Linked DNA regions of Homo sapiens: regions 1 and 3 are each linked to region 2. Evidence: promoter capture Hi-C in 16 types of primary human blood cells and fetal thymus (Javierre and others, 2016). All regions are on one chromosome and are shown on one strand. The core of a region is centred on a gene start or on the middle of the fragment in contact, and the rest is flanking DNA. Distances in the headings are between cores, read along the strand shown.

Region 1 (2,700 bases), core at 5-2,504, 94 kb after region 2:
TTTGGGGCTCACTCATCAGGTGCCAGGGACGGGGAGATTCTAACACTTGCACTGAATAATATTGAACAGTTATCCTGGAAACAGCACATACGAGGCAACACTTGAACTGGCTCAGGAGCACTTTTCATTTGCAGGCCCTCTGCCCGTCTGTGCTTGTGGGAATGGGGCTGTTTTCTTTCTCTAGATTGATTGGGAGGGAGGCCTGCAGGATGGCATTCACCTCCCAAAGATGCATCCTAGAAACACATTTCCACGTTGTCAGGGTCCTTGTGCGTTCTCAGTGTGGCATGCACTGCACAATGTGTCCCTGCCCAAGGTCCCAACTTCCACAGTCAGAGCCTTCTTCCCTTGACCACAGGCAAACTTGACTTGAACTACATTTGTTTGGCTCCAGCAAACATTTTATGTCACATTGTTCACAGAAGAGACATTCCCCCTGCCCCATCAACCTTTTCCACACCACTGCACCCACCAGGTGATTTGCATGTTGTCCCTTAGGGAGGACCTTCCCTTGTGAGTCTGAGATAAAAGCTCAGCTCTAACCTTGCCTTGACTGATCAGGACTCCTCAGTTCACCTTCTCACAATGAGGCTCCCTGCTCAGCTCCTGGGGCTGCTAATGCTCTGGGTCTCTGGTAAGGATAGGATCAAAAGTGAGGTGAGAAAATGGGGTGGGAGGGTGAGATCTGGGGTCTCCACAGCTTCCTATTTTTATTTCAACCATGTGTTACGGGCACATGGTCTGTGCTCCGGGAAAGATTACTCGTATTTTTTGTCTCAGGAATAGTCAGGAATCATCTCCCAGGAAAAATGACCAGTGCTCTGATTAAGCTCTTGAAAATAAACTGCTCCCTGCTGGCTAGTAACAAATTGGTTCATTTTAGAAAGTCTACTTTTCATGATAAAAATCAAAACTTGAAAAAATATGTAACTCTAAATCAAAATCTTAAGGAAAATCATGAAAGTTGCTCAAAATGTGTTTATATAACCTTGCACTTCTCTGTTATTATTTCAGGATCCAGTGGGGACATTGTGATGACCCAGACTCCACTCTCCCTGCCTGTCACTCCTGGAGAGCCAGCCTCCATCTCCTGCAGATCTAGTGAGAGCCTCTTGGATACTGATGATGAATACACCTATTTGAATTGGTACCTGCAGAAGCCAGGCCAGTCTCCACAGCTCCTGATCTATGAGGTTTCCAACCGGGCCTCTGGAGTTCCAGACAGGTTCAGTGGCAGTGGGTCAGGCACTGATTTCACTCTGAAAATCAGTAGGGTGGAGGCTTAGGATGTTGGGGTTTATTACTGCATGCAAGCTCTACAAACTCCGCCCACAGTGCTACATCCTCGAACAGAAACCTCCCTGCTGGGTTGACCCAGCTGCCCGCATGGGCTGCTTGTCTGAGGGAACAGCTGAGCAGAGTCTTTGAGTCTGCAGAGGAGAAGGCTGTTGGGGATGTCAGGGCAAGGTTTGCTGCTGAGGACGCTGGTCCATGACAGCCTCAGTAGCACCTCAGATTTCATATGTTAAGGCCCCACCAGCAGTCACAGCCTGGGGAAGGCATCAGGAGGAGGAGAATTCATGGGGGCTACGTGCCCTGGGAGCAACCAGCTATGATGAAGGGAGAGTGAATGAAAGCTCACATCCTCACCCTCCCTGTCTTGCCCACATTTGTCAAGTTCATGTAACTGTCAGAATAACCAGACCATGGATGCAGTTTAGTGACAACACAAGTAGAACACATATGGGAAATGACCATCTTGGGGTTTATTTCACACGCGATGACACTTAGTCATATTGGGAAATTCATACTCTCCCATCTTCCTAATTCTGCTCTCTGACTCCCACCAAACCGTCTCTCCAGTGTCTTACAGGTAGAAGCATTCTACACAAGCTGTGTGCAGGGGAGTACAGCTAACACTTAGAAAAAATGTTTGATGTTGGATTATTCAAATAGACTTTGTAAACTCATGGCAGGTATGAGATCTTAATGTTAAAAGATTGATTACTCTTAATTATTATTTGCCAAGTGAAAGCAGAGTTTTCACAATTCCAAAAGTGGCCTTTGAAAATAAACTGCAGGAACTCAAAGATGGAAAATATAAAGTTTATTTCAAGTAAAAAAGGGAACATTCAGAATTATGTGAGATTTTTATTTCTTTTCCAAATTCTAAAGGTTTTGAAAGTATTTAGGCTAAGTTCTATTTTAGAGTAGAAATGTATTACTATGTTTTCAAAAGAAAAGGTTTCAAAAAATACAGAAATGCATTCTTTTCACATGATTATATCATTACCTGAAAATGAATCTGAATTCAATGTTTTAGTTGTAAATGCCTGGAGCATCTATGCTTTTCATAGATTTTATTAAATATAGTGTTCTAAATGATATTGAACCCAATAATGAGTCACATGAGGTACATATAATTACACTGTGTGATAGACACAAAATAATGACAGAATCAACAGAAGAAGTTCTGCTTCAGGCTAAGGGTAGAAAGTACACTAGGATGATTGTTTATTCCAATATAACAAATTTCATGGTAAGTGCAATTAAAATTCCAAAGTTCCACTTCTGTTACGTTTAAAAATTGTATGGCAATATTTTTATAGATATCAATCACACTGGAGCCTGCAAATGAAAAAAAAAAGTGACACCATATATTTTTAAAATACTGATAAATGAATCGTTGATCTCAAGAGT
Region 2 (2,700 bases), core at 86-2,585:
CTTTTCCCACCAGCTCAAGCCAAATCTTATCTCTATGGACATCCCATTGGCCCTCATCAGGTCCCCCATGTCTGCTTGTTCCTGCAATCCATTCTCAAAACATAAAGCATAACATGTCACACAGTTTCACACTCTTCAGCACTTTCCTTTGCTCTGAGGAGAAGCCAGGCACCCACTCACCTGGCCCCACCCAGCACCCCCATCCCCACACACTCTTCCTTGCATCCTCCCTGCTACCTGATGGGGCCCCTGTGCCCCTCTTGTAAGCTGACATGCAGTGCACATTGGGGATGGCTTACTGAAGAGGCCCCTTGTCTGTCCTGTTCTCTAAGACATCTGCAGAGGCAAGAACAGATCCTGTGCATATCAGATGCCCCCAACTGTGCTTTCACACAATGTGTGAACAAAGAAGCAAACCAAGCTCCTCCAGAGGCAGGAGACAAGGACCTCCGGCTTCTTGGTCCCCGTGACACCGGGTCTGGTTGAGGCCAAGCTGCCCTCATCTTTGACCTGTTCTCTCCTTCCCTTCTCTCCCCAGGCAACATGAGAACCTCCAACTGGCCCAGGGAAGGAACTTGTAAAGCCCACCCCAACCAGGATAAGACAGTGGGGCATAAATGGGAGGAGAGGGGTTGGCTGTCAGTGCCACACTCAATGAACACTCACACATGCACACACTGATGCGTGCACACACGTGACATAAGTACACACGGTGACATCCCAATACATTCACAAACATACACAACACAAACAGGCCCAAACCCTCACTCTGAAACCTAACCCCACCCCCAAACTGCAACCCGGAACTCAAGTCCTAGCCTGAACCTTGACCCCAAACCCCAACTCAAGTCAGAAGGTAAACCATGGGCCGAATCCCGAACTGGAACTCAAACCCCAGCAGGAACCTGAACTCTTCCATTGTCTTTCCTCATCTGGCGCATGGGACTCAGCACCTGAGACTCTGTTGTGGCCCTCTGAATGAGCTGCGCCCCTCGTTCTTGTCCTCTCCACCAGCTGCGCTCCCTGTCCCTCTTCTCCCAAGGAGCCACCCGGCCCATGTCCCCCGCCCCGGTGGTCCCGATGAGATGCACCCAGGCTGACCCAGGGTGCAAATCCCCACCCCAATCCCCAACGCAAACCCTGAACGAGAGGCCTCGTCTAAACTTTAATCCCAAACTCCACCTCAAATTGGAACCGGAACCACAGATGGAAGCCTGAACCGGAACTCAAAGCCCAGCTGGAACCTGAACCCCGCCCTCGCCTGTGAGCACCTGCGCCCGGGTCTCGCCCTCCCCACGAGCTTCACCTCTGACCCCGACCTCCCCTAGAACTGCGCTTTCTACCCCGCAGTCCCAGGGTATCGCAAGCCGTCCCTCACACCCCACCTCCAGCAACGCCCTCTCGCCCTGTCTCCCCCACCTTCACTGTGAGCTGCAGCCCCCATGTCCCTGCCGTCCCCCTCACCCTCCCGGGAGCTGTGCCCACCTGACCCGGCATTTGCGCCTTTGTCTTCGTGGCCCGGAAGTGGCCCCGCCGGCGGAAGCACGAGAAGTGGCCACGTGCTGTACAGCGGCTGGCTGAGGAAGTCGCCCCCCGAGAAGAAGCTGAGGCTCTTTGTGAGTGGGGCAGTGGGGGCGGTACCAGGAGCGCCACGGAGGGTCTGGGGACTCCGGGAGGGGCGTGGGGGAGGCGGCCTGGGTCCACGGGAGGAGCTGCGGGTGGAGGCGACTTCTCCACGTCTGCATGCGAAGGCGACTCCCCGCCAGTGAGAGACAGGGTCCAGGTTTGTGTGGGTTGCGTTCCGAGACCCAGGGAGTTGATTCCAGGGCTGGGGACCCTATTACCTTGAGCGCCGTGGGCCTGCAGGTCGGAGAGTGGGCGGGAAAGGGGACACAGCAGGCTCCGCAGCCTCGCAAAACGGCAGGAACCTCGCACCCGCTCCCCTTCCCTCCCAGGCCCTGAGAATGGCGGGCACCTCGCACCCTCTCTCCTTCCCTCCCAGGCCCCAAGGAAGGCAGGCGCCTTAAACCTGCTCACCTTCCCTCCCAAGCCCCGAGAAGGCAGGCACCTCACACCCTCTCCCTTTCCCTCCCGGGCCCCAGGAAAACGCGGGCACCTCGCACCCGCTCGCTCCCCTTCCCTCCTCACCCGCCACTCCCGGGGTCGTTCGCGTCCTTCCATGCCACCACGCCTGCTGAGGGACAGTGTGCACTGCAGTGTAGTTTTCTATATATTAATTCATGTGGTTAAACGATTTAGAAAAAAAGAAGATTGGTTGCCCTTTCCCCTAGTGGCTAATTTGAAGAGTGTTGTTCTAAATTTCAACAATTTTACTGAGGAAGCGGTAATTGTTAGGAGTCACTATGATTATACCAAGGTACATAGAAGAGGCTTTTCTCTCCTGTTCCTTAGCCCCAGGTCCAGCCCTTCAAGAATCTATTCCAGAATAAGCTGATCCTATAGTCATCTTCCCTTTCCTCTGCTTCCCTGAGGTATGGGGTATGATCAATTCTGCGTTCTTGTCTTTCTCCATTTCTTTTTTCAATTTTTTATTATACTTTAAGTTCTGGGATACATGTGCAGAACGTGGAGGTTTGTTACATACATATACACGTGTCATGGTGGTTTGCTGCACCCATCAACCCATCATCTACATTAGGTATTTCTCGTAATGCTATCCCTTCCCTTGCCCCCCAACCC
Region 3 (2,700 bases), core at 99-2,598, 73 kb after region 2:
ACTACTCCACAATGGAAGTGAGGAAGAGTATGCGTGGAATACAGGAGATCCATTAGGGCGTCTCTTGGGATTATCATGCACTCTGATTAAGGTCAATGGGAAACTACAACAGCCCAACCCAGGTAAGACCTAAATGGTCCAGATCCCTCCGGGGTCACAACCTGCTGAGGTGCTTGCTAAAGGCAAAGGAAATACAGAATGAATAATGGAAGAAGGTAGTAATCAATACCAGCTGTGACCATGTGACCAGCTGCAGAAATGAGGACTGGAACTGTCATGAGTATTTCTTTCTTCTTTTCTTAAAAAACATCTTTGTGCATGTATACACTTGTACTAAGAAAATATCTTGATTTCATTTCCTTTTTCTTTATCAGGTGACATAAGAGTTATTGACTTCATATCAGCATTTAAGCATTGTTCACTTTATGTAATAGTATTTGGGTTGGCGATTGGTGCGTTTCCGGTTGTAGGAAGGATAGTTATGTTAGGTGTAATTACGACCACATTATTGTCTTTATTTTAAGATTAGGTATGATCTCAGGAGATGTGTATGTGTTCAAGGTGACAAGGGGTGGGCTTGTGATGGTTAATACTGAGTGTCAACTTGATTGGATTGAGGAGGTAAAGTATTGGTCCTGGGTGTGTTTGTGAGGGTGTTGCCAAAGGAGATTAATATGTGAGTCAGTGGGCTGGGAAAGGCAGACCCGCCCTTAATCTGTGTGGGCACAATCCAGTCAGCTGCCAACACAGCTAGACTATAAGCAGGCAGAAAAATGTGAAAAGAGATGGGCCTCACCTCCCAGCCTACATCTTTCTCCCGTGCTGGATGCTTCCTGCCCTCGAACATGGACTCCTAGTTCTTCAGTTTTGGAACTCTGGCTGGCTCTCCTTGCTCCACAGCCTGCAGACATCCTATTGGGAGACCTTGTGATTGTGTGAGTTAATACTTAATAAACTTCCTGTATTAGCCAGTGACATCTAGAGGGACAGAACTAACAGGAGATTTATACATATACACACATACATACACACACACATATATACACAGACACACATATATATATACACACACACACACATATATACATATATATATATAAATGTAGGAAGTTTCCGTTTTTCCCTCAAAACAAGTACGTTCCCCCAAGTTCAGGCCCCTGAATAGGCAGCAGGAGGGTGTATGCAGAGTCTCCACTAAAGTGATTTGACCACTCCTAGTCAGGCATCAGTAATACTCCCCAGAACCCCAGGCTGAAGCCCACTGATGCTGATGTAGTTCAATCCACTTCCTCTACGACTGCACCAGGCTGAGATGCCTTGGCCCCTGTTAAAGATGTGACATATAATGGATGCGAATCTGTGTTCAGTTTTGTCCAAATCCAAGTGATTTCTCCATATACATGGGTACTTACTGGAAAGGAGATGGAGACTCTCTGTCCTAGATGTGAGACAGGAGGCTGGCACCTGGGTTAGGATGACCTTCCCTCACTGCTAAAGAGTAAAAGAGGAAAGAAAGTGGCATTGATAGTGCAAGGCAGGGATATGCCCTGAGCAGCAGCTGCCCTCACTAGGAGGGAAGACTCACTGTCCTGGTCTTTCCCAAGCTCTCCCCGTCACCTGATCTCCAGGAATCCAGGCTCCAGAGGAGCTCCTCCTGAGTCCCCAGGAACATGCTAGTGGGCAGTGCAGCCCAGACCATTACTCAGGGAATATGGCATTAGTCTTTTTTTGGAGACAATTGATCCCTGAATAATTTCAAGTTTATCCTAATCCATGCTTCTATAATTGGAGGAAGAAACAAGTGACTTTTTTTTTATTTTTTAAGTAGTCAGGTCTAGCATCACTACTCAGCCCTTCATGCTGATGAATCCTGGGAAGAAATAACCAATGACAGAAACAGGAATAGAATATGGAGGCCCTGAAACCAAAAATAAGATGCATTCCATAAAATCCCTGGCGTTAAAGAGGTCCATAGGTTTGGATAATGGTAGATCTGTGAGCAATACATGCTTTGAGGTTGAGGGTATCATCTTTGTGCATCTGCAGGGAATTGCTTGAACAGATAGTGATAATCATAATAATGAATTAAAGTCATTCCAAAATACTGAAAGTATTTAAATACTGAAATATATTTAGCATTATCTTGATAAATTTTTTTAAAGGGAAGAAACAATTTCACACTCACAGAAATGTTGTAAGTATACCACAATGTATCCCCTTCCCTTTCAGAGTATATCAAATACCCGATGATCACACCCTCTAAAACTTTACTATCATTTTCCTACAGAGAAGAATATTCTCCTAAATAATCCCAATACACCAATGGAATATATTATTTCATCAGGTACTCAGCAGTATTTCAAATTTTGAGAAGTATCAAAAAATGTGCTCTGTGACAAAGTGGTCCCCAGGAAGAAACACGTTATTTACAGACATATCTGTACTGCCCTGGTTTGACCTGGGACCCTAGGGACATTGTTCCTATGCTGAGTTACTGAGATGAGCCAGCCCTGCAGCTATGCCCAGCCTGCTCCACTCCCTGCTGATTAGCATGTTCCCAGAGCACAGCCCCCTGCCCTGAAGACTTCTTAATAGGCTGGTCACACCCTGTGCAGGAGTCAGCCCCAGTCAGGACACAGCACGGACGCGAGGGCCCCCACTCAGCTCCTGGGGCTCCTGGGGCTCTGGCTGCCAGGTAAG

What was found. The method cuts DNA at HindIII sites, captures the fragments that hold promoters and counts their contacts. A CHiCAGO score of 5 or more calls a contact.
Region 1: a fragment that was not itself captured here is called in contact with the fragment with the promoter of GAB4 in region 2 in 2 of 17 cell types (M2 macrophages and M1 macrophages); the score reaches 6.9 in M2 macrophages.
Region 3: a contact is called between a fragment that was not itself captured here and the fragment with the promoter of GAB4 in region 2, in 2 of 17 cell types (M2 macrophages and M0 macrophages). The highest score is 7.0, in M2 macrophages.

Annotation. Positions count from the first base shown.
Region 1 is chr22:16,912,865-16,915,564 of GRCh38, reverse strand. It overlaps the pseudogene IGKV2OR22-4. Among named protein-coding and RNA genes, the nearest start is that of XKR3, 89 kb to the right of the region's middle. The HindIII fragment of the contact is 4,149 bases long and covers 1-2,700 here.
Region 2 is chr22:17,006,857-17,009,556 of GRCh38, reverse strand. It overlaps GAB4 (GRB2 associated binding protein family member 4), which reads left to right and starts at 1,335. Exons shown (of 10, transcript NM_001037814.1): 1 at 1,335-1,616. The coding sequence starts at 1,443. The HindIII fragment of the contact is 7,120 bases long and covers 1-2,700 here.
Region 3 is chr22:16,933,944-16,936,643 of GRCh38, reverse strand. It overlaps the pseudogene IGKV1OR22-1. Among named protein-coding and RNA genes, the nearest start is that of GAB4, 73 kb to the left of the region's middle. RefSeq lists an enhancer at 2,493-2,700. The HindIII fragment of the contact is 7,898 bases long and covers 1-2,700 here.